Linked DNA regions of Homo sapiens: region 2 is linked to region 1. The links are contacts of gene promoters, found by promoter capture Hi-C in blood cells and fetal thymus (Javierre and others, 2016). All regions are on one chromosome and are shown on one strand. The core of a region is centred on a gene start or on the middle of the fragment in contact, and the rest is flanking DNA. Distances in the headings are between cores, read along the strand shown. Region 1 holds the start of ZDHHC2 (zDHHC palmitoyltransferase 2). Region 2 overlaps MSR1 (macrophage scavenger receptor 1).

What was found. Contacts are between HindIII fragments. The CHiCAGO score rates a contact against its expected background, and 5 or more counts as called.
Region 2: a fragment that was not itself captured here is called in contact with the fragment with the promoter of ZDHHC2 in region 1 in 4 of 17 cell types (M1 macrophages, M0 macrophages, monocytes and 1 more); the score reaches 6.2 in M1 macrophages.

What each region holds. Positions count from the first base shown.
Region 1 is chr8:17,152,850-17,157,731 of GRCh38, reverse strand. ZDHHC2 (zDHHC palmitoyltransferase 2) reads right to left here and starts at 1,250. Exons shown (of 13, transcript NM_016353.5): 1 at 879-1,250. The coding sequence starts at 1,008. RefSeq lists a silencer at 432-1,791. The HindIII fragment of the contact is 4,757 bases long and covers 1-4,408 here.
Region 2 is chr8:16,161,868-16,166,749 of GRCh38, reverse strand. MSR1 (macrophage scavenger receptor 1) reads left to right here. Exons shown (of 10, transcript NM_138715.3): 5 at 2,499-2,685. Among named protein-coding and RNA genes, the nearest start is that of MSR1, 28 kb to the left of the region's middle. The HindIII fragment of the contact is 1,971 bases long and covers 1,039-3,009 here.

The DNA of each region.
Region 1 (4,882 bases), core at 1-2,500:
TTTTAACATCTTTTTCTGATAACCCAGATCAGTTTTCATAAAACCCCTGAAGGTAGAAACCAGCTTACATTAAGCGACATCATTGTACTCCCTACTTGTGCATAATAATCAACTTTTTAAAAAATTTTAATCTTCAGCATTAAAAGTATCCTACCCACCAATTCAGGAACCTCGAACTCGGACTGGAGCCACTTCGCTCTCTGGATGTAAAAACCTCAGACGATCACCTCTTTTTTTCTCTCCCTACTGTTCAAACACCTAAATTATGGTTTAGTGTGTTGCACATGTCCTCAAAAATACTTTCTAGTAGCTCACCTCCTCCACATCCTTTTAAACTAGAAAAGTGTCCAACTGGCAATCCTCAAATCATAAAGGCAGCAAAAACGCCCCTGAGCGCTGTCACAAATTTTTAACAAGTGCATTGACGCCAACCAGCAAGGGATCCAGCTCCGCCGCCAAGGCCAGCACCCCCGCGCGGGTCTGGCGCAGCTCGGGGCCGGGCCCAGCTCAGCCCTTCAGCCCCCGGCGCGCCTCGCCGGCCTCGGCCTCCCCTCTCCACAGCGGTCCCGGGGACCTTCCGCCCCTCTAGGGGGTGTGGCCGAGGCGGCGGCGGTGAGCGGAAGGCGGCGGGAGGCTCGGCGGCGAGTGCGGGGCGGAGGCGCCACCTTAACCCGAGAGTTGGGAGGGGAGGGCGAGGGGCGTGCGCGTGGAAGAAGCTGCCCCGAGGCTGCTTTTAGCGGCGGAGCCGGCGGGACGCGGCAGGTTGGCAGCGCCCGGGGCGCATCCGGGGGGCGAGAGCGGAGGAGCGGCTGAGCGTCCCGGGACAGTCGGGGTGGGCTGCGCTGCGCTGGGGGCGCCGCGGCGGGGGGCGCACTCACCTATGCACAGCTGGATGGCGTAGGCGTAGTAGGACCAGCCGAGCAGGAGGGTGATGAACACCACCGGGATCCAGTACAGCACCCGCCGGCACCGCCGCCTGGCGCTGCTGCCCGGGCCCGAGGGCGCCATCTTCCAGCCGCATCCACCTGCCCAGCTCCGCCGCCGCCCGCGGGCCTGGCTCCGGGGCGGGCTGGGCGGGCCCGGCACCCCTGGCTGGACGGGCTCCTGGGCGGCGGCGGGGTGCGCTGCGGCCACTGCCGCCGCCGTGGCGCTAACTCCCCATCCCGCAGCCCCGAGCCGGCGCGGCGGACTCCCGGCTCCTCAGCCCGGCGGAGGCGGAGGCGGCGGCTGCGAGCGGAGGCCGAGGAGGCGGAGGGGGGCGGTGAGGCGGCGGCGTCGGGAGGCTGCGCTCCGCCCCCGCCGTTCCCCGCCGCCCGGCCGCCTCCCCTGGCGTGGCAGGCTGCGCCCTCGGGCGGGCTCTGCGGGGATGCGGGGCCCTCGCTCGGGCCACCTCGCGGGCTCCCACCGTGGCCCCGCCGCCTCCGGCTCGGCCTCTGGATTCCGGGGAGGCGGGGGCTGCTGGGCGCAGGCCCCCGGGGCGGAGCGGGCGGTGGCGGCCCCTCCCTAGGCGCCCGGCACCCGGGGCAGTTAGGTCGCGAGCGCTTCCGCGCTTGGCGCAGGGCGGGGGTCGGAGGCGAGGCCGGCGGAGCAGCTGCTGCGCTCGGGACTCCGCGCCTGCCGCGACCCAGGCGCCCTGAGAAAGTCTGCAGCACCGAGGCCCGCGTCCCCGCAGCCCGCGTGGAACCCTCGCGCTTCAACTTGCGGGTCCCTGGGAGCCCGCGGGGGCCGCAAGGAGCCTCCCTTTACTACTCGGGCTTTCGGGGGAAGCAGAAATGCACAGCGAAGAGGGGGTGCCGAGCCGGCGTCTGGCATGGGAGGGGCTGTGGAGAGCGAGGAAGAAGCATTTTTGGCTGTGAATCCAGGCACCTCTGGAGTTAGAAACACAAGTTCTTTGCTCTGAGAATGTTGATGCTTTGGATAAATGATTGTGACAGGGGCCGTTCCCACTGTCCCCTCCCTCAAGTACGGTGGTTCCTTCCACCAACTATTTATTCTTTTCCTCAACCCGCTCCTCACTACGGTGTTTACTTTCGTGGTGGCAATTCCAAACTTAGCAGATAGCTGACTCCAAAGCGGTTCCCAAAAAACACCGTAAGGGAACCTAAAGGTAGTCAGCCCAAACCTCTGATTTTATGATTCACGAAATGGAAAATAAACAAATGCCTCCTTTGCTTTTCCTTCATCTGATTATGAACGCACCTGATCCACAGGGAAACATTTCAATCAATGAGTGTGTGTAAATTATGTGCATCACTACTATACATAATAGGCACAATTTTTCTTAACATTAGTGAATATGTGTATTTACACCACACAGCAACCACAGTGAATGAAATTACTTCTTATTCATGTGTAGAAGTAAAAAAAAAATACTGATTTACATGAATTCAGTCAAAGAAATTTAGCTCTGGTGTCTGCGATTATCTTTCTGTGACTGGATTACACAACAAGCTAATCTCTCCCGAAATAGCTACTATGTTACAGCCCCCCACCCCACATCTCTTTCCATTTCTCTTCAAAAATGCATAGAAAATGTCAGTCAAGTTTCTGTGGGACTTTAAATAATTGAAAAGAGAGACATATTATGTCCCAGTGAATCACTTGATTTTGCTGTAGCCTTTTATATTCTCTGTGGATATTCTGTATATTAATGTAAAAATAAAACTTCTCTGGATTCCTTAATGTTTTCCATGAATATTAATCCTGTGTTCCCCCCCAATCAGAAGAGAGTAAAAAACAGGAATTAAAACTTCCTCCTGGGACTGAAATACCCTCACAAAGAGAAGCAAATCAGTGACTGAAGGTCAATAGAGACCATCAAGGTATGAAAAGGAAGGAATCGGATTTTCCATACTGGAAACGGTGGAGAAAGTGCAAATAGTGCCTCTGTAGATCCTGGATGCGACGATGCCCTGTGCTCTTCCTCCTCTCACAGTCCTACAGGGTCTTGAAATCGGAAATGGAATAGCATTCTGCCCAGTTTTCACATCATCTACCCTTTTGGAAAAGTATGCAGGTGTCATATCTTTGAAGGAGCTACATTTTTATTACTCATCTAAGATGTTGTTTAATTGTTCCTATTTATAATAAATATTTGTGAAATATTTTCAACTTTTTTTTGTTATTGCCATTTTAAGGATACTACTATTACTGGGTTTTTCAAGTTCTCTTATCTTAAATACAGAAAAAGTCTGGATTAGGAAGAAGCATCTCCACAGCCACAAGATAACAGGATTGATCTCTGCGTAGTCTCTAATTAGGCATAAGCAGCACGCACAAATGTAAGCTCTTTGGTGAGTAGCCAATCTCTAGATACTAGTCTTTGATGAGAGTGGAAGGAGAGCTTTTATTTTGAGGTATAGAGAGCCTTTGATTTATTTTCTTTTTCTTTAGGACTACATAAACAGAAAAAATAATTTGAAGGTCATAGACAAGAAGAAACTTCACTAGAGACTTACTGTTTAGAAATACAGAAGATTCAACTCACGAATTTTAATTTAAATGTTCAATAAGCATAAGAAATTGTAGGTTTCATGTATAACTGTGATTAAACTGATATGACCACTTATGAAAAAGAAAGCCAGCCACAGCAAAGGAGGAAGAAGGCGACGCTAAGGAAGAGAAGAGACGAGCGGACAGCCAGGCAAGGAGGGGGGTGAGGGGAGTGACTGAGAACGGGAGAAAAGCCCCCTTGCTGGGTTCATCCAGTCCCTAATGACCATGACTCCATCCTCGCTAGGCCTCTGCCTGTATGCTCCTTGCACTCAGCGGTCTAGCAACATCATTCACCTCTCAAATTTTCACAACTCTTATTTTCAGTTCCTGCCCCATGAAGGAATCTCTCTTTTTTTGGGGGGGGGGGGCGGACAGAATTTCGCACTGTTGCCTGGGCTGGAGTGCAATGCCGCCATCTCGGCTCACTGCAACCTCCGCCTCCCGGGTTCAAGCGATTCTCCTGCCTCAGCTTCCCGAGTAGCTGGGATTACAGGTGCCCGCCACCGTGCCCGGCCAATTTTTTGTATTTGTAGTAGAGACAGGGTTTCAGTATGTTGGCCGAACTGGTCTCAAACTCCTGACCTGGTGATCCGCCCGCCTCGGTCTCCGGAAGTGTTGGAATTACAGGTGTGAGCCACCGTGCCCAGCCCAGGAACCTTAAACGTTCCTCCTCTCCCTCCAGCCCAGTCCCCCAAATTCTTGAGTTCCCAAACCTCAAGTCTGCCGTACTTTCATGATTAATACTGCTAATCTTCCTTCTGCCTGCAGATCCAGATTACCATTTTAACATAGTCCCTTGCATAGTATGAATCAAACATAGCATGCTAGCCAAACCCAGGAAGGCGTGGACGCACCTGCTGCTAGAGAACACAGATCCCCCTTAATGTTGCCTATGCCAACCTCATCTCAAGCTTTTCAGCCAAAACACCTACCAGAAACTATTAGGACACTTGCTTGATATTTACTCCTTCCTTTTGGAAGGGTTCTTAGAGGGCAACATTGCAACAAGATATGAGGTCAGTCGTATTAGTCTCATGTATATGAGACGTTGATTGTCTTGAGTTTGCTAAGAGGGTATGATACTTCACAAATACAAGGAGTTCTAAATCTTACAAGGATTGGAAGCAATGAAGCTGAGGTCTGGATCTATATCTTATTTACTAATGGCTCTCCCATCCTTACTAGAGTGGTCTGCATGAATACTGATAGATTCTCTTTCATTATTTTCTCAAACTTAATCTTATCACTCTTTTGGGGGAGAAGAGCTCTTTAGAAGGCAGCAGTCCATGACATCAGTGACTCCAGTGTCAATGTGCATGTTTATAATAGCGGTCAAAACATTCTCTGTGGGAGAAGAATAGCATGCCTAAACCACTTTTTGTTTCTG
Region 2 (4,882 bases), core at 775-3,274, 990 kb after region 1:
AAATTAATTTGAAAGAAAGAGGAAGAACATTGGCACCAAATGAAAGACAGGGGTGGCATTTATCATCATCCATAGAGGTGAAAAGGACTGTACGACTACAAAATTAAATGCCTGTTTCTAGGAGGGTCACTGGTGGTAGCATGTGGAGGGAGTGTGTGGATGCTATATAGGATTTTTTGAAATTAAATACACTTTTCCTCCTCCCAGTGAAAATAATTTCCACTGAAATTTGACAAATGTAAACACCATGTGCAGTTTTCAAAGAAGGGAATAATAAGGCAGCCTCAGCTGCCAGGCGCAGTGCCTCACACCTGTAATCCCAGCACTTTGGGAGGCCGAGGTGGGTGGACCACGAGGTCAGGAGTTCGAGACCAGTCTGGCCAACATAGTGAAACCCCATCTCTACAAAATTAAAAAAAAAAAAATTAGTCAGGTGTGGTAGTGTGCACCTGTAATCCCAGCTACTCGGGAGAACCACTTGAACCCAGGAGGTGGAGGTTGCAGGGAGCCGAGATCATGCCATTGCACTCCAGCCTGGGTGACAGTGCGAGACTCCGTCTCAAAAAAAAAAAAAAAAAAAAAAAAGAAAGAAAAAGTAGCCTCAGCTTTTAGGTATGATGAAAAACCTGGATGATTCCTCGTTTCTAGGAAGCAAAATCACTGTCTAGTCACTTAACACTTTATGCTGAATGTCTGGAACTACCCGACATACTTGCAGCAATTTTTAGCCCCCTAAATTAAGTCAAGTGTATTTATCATGGCGGTGTGCCCTACAAACATCCATGCTCACTATTTCACCTTTATTGTAATGATGGTATTGTACAGAAAATATTAAATGGTCAGGGGAGGAGGAGGTGCAAGATAGAGAAATTCTAATCTAGAATAAGGTTTTGTTTGGGAGAAGGCACAGTTAGAGCAATAAAAGCTGGTAAGTCTCTCTGCTTCAGTATAGTGTCATTGAAGAGGCAAATCTAGACGCACATTCATTTATTTTCGAAGGTCCTACACTCTGACCATCTTGATCCTCTCACCTAAGCTTGTCTAGTCTAGTCCAGCTCAAGAGAGTGTAATATTCTTTTTACTTCTGGATTAAAGAAAAACATACCACTGGCTTATTTCCCCATGTGCAAATCGGAAATGAGTATCTATCAACTTTAGAACATAGGAGTACTTAATACAATAATAAAGCATACAATGAAGACAGAAAATGGGATAAAAGTAGAACAGAGAGACAAAAATTATTACCAGAATAGATGAGAACATTTGGTTCATCAAAAATAAAAAGCCCAATGCTGAAAGAGAAAACCAAGCAAATGATCTAAAAGAAAAATTAATAAACATTAATCGTCAGAAATTTAATGACTGGATACTTTAACCTCACTATAATTTGAAAAACAAGTTAAGTAATAATGATTTGCTATGTACCTACTCTTACTATGCAAACTTAAATATATTAATGGTACCCAGTATTCAGCTGCAAAAAGTGGACGCTGATACGCAGTAAGAGGAAGAAAAATGGTAGCATATATTTGGAGAGTAGTACGGCAATGGTTGAACAAAAATGCTGTTTAATGTTTAGTCCCTTTGGTCAAATCCACTTCAGGAAGATGTTCTATAGAAGTACTTATATCAATATACAAATATATTTAAAATGATGTTCATGGCAGCATTGTTTAGTTGTAGAAAAGTGCACAGCTCAAAACACTATGAATAGGAATCCTAAATAAATTTTGAGAAATAGATTCAATTCCACTAAATTACTGAAAATATCAGTCTCTAAAGTATTTTAATAGATAAATATCCTTAATATATTATTGAGTAAAATATAAAAGCATATTCCAGGATATAGGTAGATCCTCTGTCTTTTTCACACTCTTAAGTATATGAATGTGTATGTATAAATATACACAAAATATACGTGTATTTGAAAACACAAAATACTAATGCCTCAAATACAGAGGCAATGCAAACTGAAAGTAAAGCACTGTTAATATGCGAGTTCGAGGTTTTATTGAGTATGAAAATCTATTGTCAATGATCATCACCACTGAGGATTATGACATTAAACTTCACTTATTACTATAAAACAATTTCCAATATAAATCTATCAAATTCACGAAATTTGACTATGTTGCCACTGTAAGTACAGTACGAAGACATTTTACTTCAGATAAATTAAGACCTTATGGTGTTTATTTAATTTTATTGTTAGAATTTTGACATCTATATATATAGGAATAGAAACATATCATAGATACATTAAATTGATTTTTGAAGGGGGTTGTGATTGTAAACATTCAGCCATTCAGTCAAAAGAGGAAATGTTTCACAATTAAAGAATTACTACTTTCAAAACAGTTTTCTAATTTCTATATTCTTATTCCATAAAACTCCCATAATATGTTTTTAAAAACCTGAACTCCGAGGGTTTCTTGAACTTTCATATTTGATAATTATGTATGTAACAAAGGCTGTGAATGCTCACTTATGTTTTACAGGAAATCAGTAAATTAGAGGAGCGTGTTTACAATGTATCAGCAGAAATTATGGCTATGAAAGAAGAACAAGTGCATTTGGAACAGGAAATAAAAGGAGAAGTGAAAGTACTGAATAACATCACTAATGATCTCAGACTGAAAGATTGGGAACATTCTCAGACCTTGAGAAATATCACTTTAATTCAAGGTAAAATGTCTTGTCATTTCTCCAGAAAATGATATATATATTAAAATATACTGATACATGCAGAGATTTGATATTTGAAATCCTATGGTTTGAAATAAATAGTTTCTGAGCTTACATTTACTGCAAATACCCAAAGGAAAGAATATGAAAATCAGATAAAGACAGGGTACGATAACCAGTAGCCTGGTATCACTTAAATAGAAAGGGAAAAGCAAAATATATCTTAAGGTCTAATGATTTTCTCATTGTTAAAAACTACCTCATAAGTACTGAATACAAGTTTTTTGTAATTACAAGTTTCTTCACATGTTCACAAACCAAGCTTGTTAATATTGCTTTTCCAAAACTTCCAGTCTTTTTTATTTCTTACTTGACTGTATTATTAATTAAAAGGATCTTTTGAACTCTCCAAAATAATGATGGATTTGTCCATTTCTTCTGCAGTGCCTGTTAGTGAAATAAGGTGAATTGGATCTTACTTATATATATAAATAAAATATATGTATATATGCTTTCTTTATATATATAGGCTTTCAGTTTTAGCTTTACATTTTAGATATTTTAGTTTTAGCTTTACATTATAGATTTTTTCTATATTTTGATTTTTTGATTTCTATATTTTGATTTTGATTTTCTATATTTTGATTTCAACCATTTGCATGTATTTTTCTATATTTTGATTGCAACCTTTTGCCTGTTGGTATTCTTTGTTTTAGGTTAGTCTCTTGTAATGAATACTTACCTTTTCTTTTAAAAAAATATACAATCTGACCATCTCTTTGCACTGTATTTATTTCCACTATCTTATCATGTGCTCTGGTTTTTTCCAGTTTATTTTATGTTTCTTTTGCTTTGCTGTATTGCCACTTTTGGATTGATTAAGATTTTTCTCTTGCTGAATTTTTCTCTCTACCAAAATTACCAAACAGGTTTCAGAAACTTTGTAGTATATTTCTATTTCTTATTGATTGTTGACCTTAACATTTATCTTGAAGTCTAAAGTTGATCAGTATCTTAACATTCATCCTAAAATACACAAGGAACTGAAAGTGCTTTGATGATCCTCTTCCCTAGTTTCCTGCTAATATTTTAGTACAGTTTATTCTACTTTATTTTTTTTTAATCGAGAACTTAGTCAATATTATTTTTCTTTTTTTATACAGACAATCTTGTGGAGCCTTAATTAGGGAAAAGTAGTCAGGCTGGTAGGACCAGGGAAAGCAAAGAGAAAGAAGATAAGCTATAAATCTGCCTTTCTTCTTGGTCCAGAACATGTAGGTCCCTCCTGCAAGAAACTTGTCACCAGATACCTGCAAGTTAACCCACTCTAACCTTGGTTTATCAGTACTGCACAAGCTCTCTTCAGCATACGTTATAAACACTATTCTATAAAATCTTCAGCAAACCTTTGTTTCCTGGCAATCAGTTTCTCTTCTGCTGGCCTGCTCATTGCCTCCTTGCAACGTATTTTCCTGCTTTTGTTAATAAATCTGCCTTTCTTTATCTACAACCATCTTGGTAAATTATTTAACCCTGCACCACTGGCTCAGATAGTCATCGCTCACCCACAACAAATATTTATTTAAATTTGCGCATGAATTTACCAATTGTTCTCCGTTCTAAAAGCACCTCGGGCATTTCTTCTGGGATTATTTTCCTTCTGCCTGAAGTATATCTTTTGGAAGTTCATTTAGTGAAAGTAAATTGATCAAGAAACCTTCTGATTTCATTTTCTCTATTTTGACTTGATCTTTGAAATTGTTTTACTATATACACACTTATTAGGTTGACAGTTATTTTGATTCCTTCTATCAGTGTGCTGAAAAAATTGGTCCCCTGGCTTCAAGCTTTTCTTGTGGCTCTTAAAATGACTGCCACCAATCTGTTTGTCATTCTCTTTGTCTTTCATATCTGCAGTTTTACTTATCTGTGGTTTTGTATTGATAATTTATCCATCTAACATTTGCTGTACTTCTTATATTAGTGGATTTATGTCTATCAGTTTGGGAATATAACCAGCTTCATTCACTTTGACTATTGCTTCTTCACGATTCTTTCTCTCCTTTCCTCTGTAACTTACATGAAATTCATATTGGATGTTCTCATTCCAGCTTCCATGTCTGTTAAGCTCTATTTCATGATTTTAATATTTTGTCTCATTTTATATCATTAGCAACTAGAAAAATAGAACTAAGAA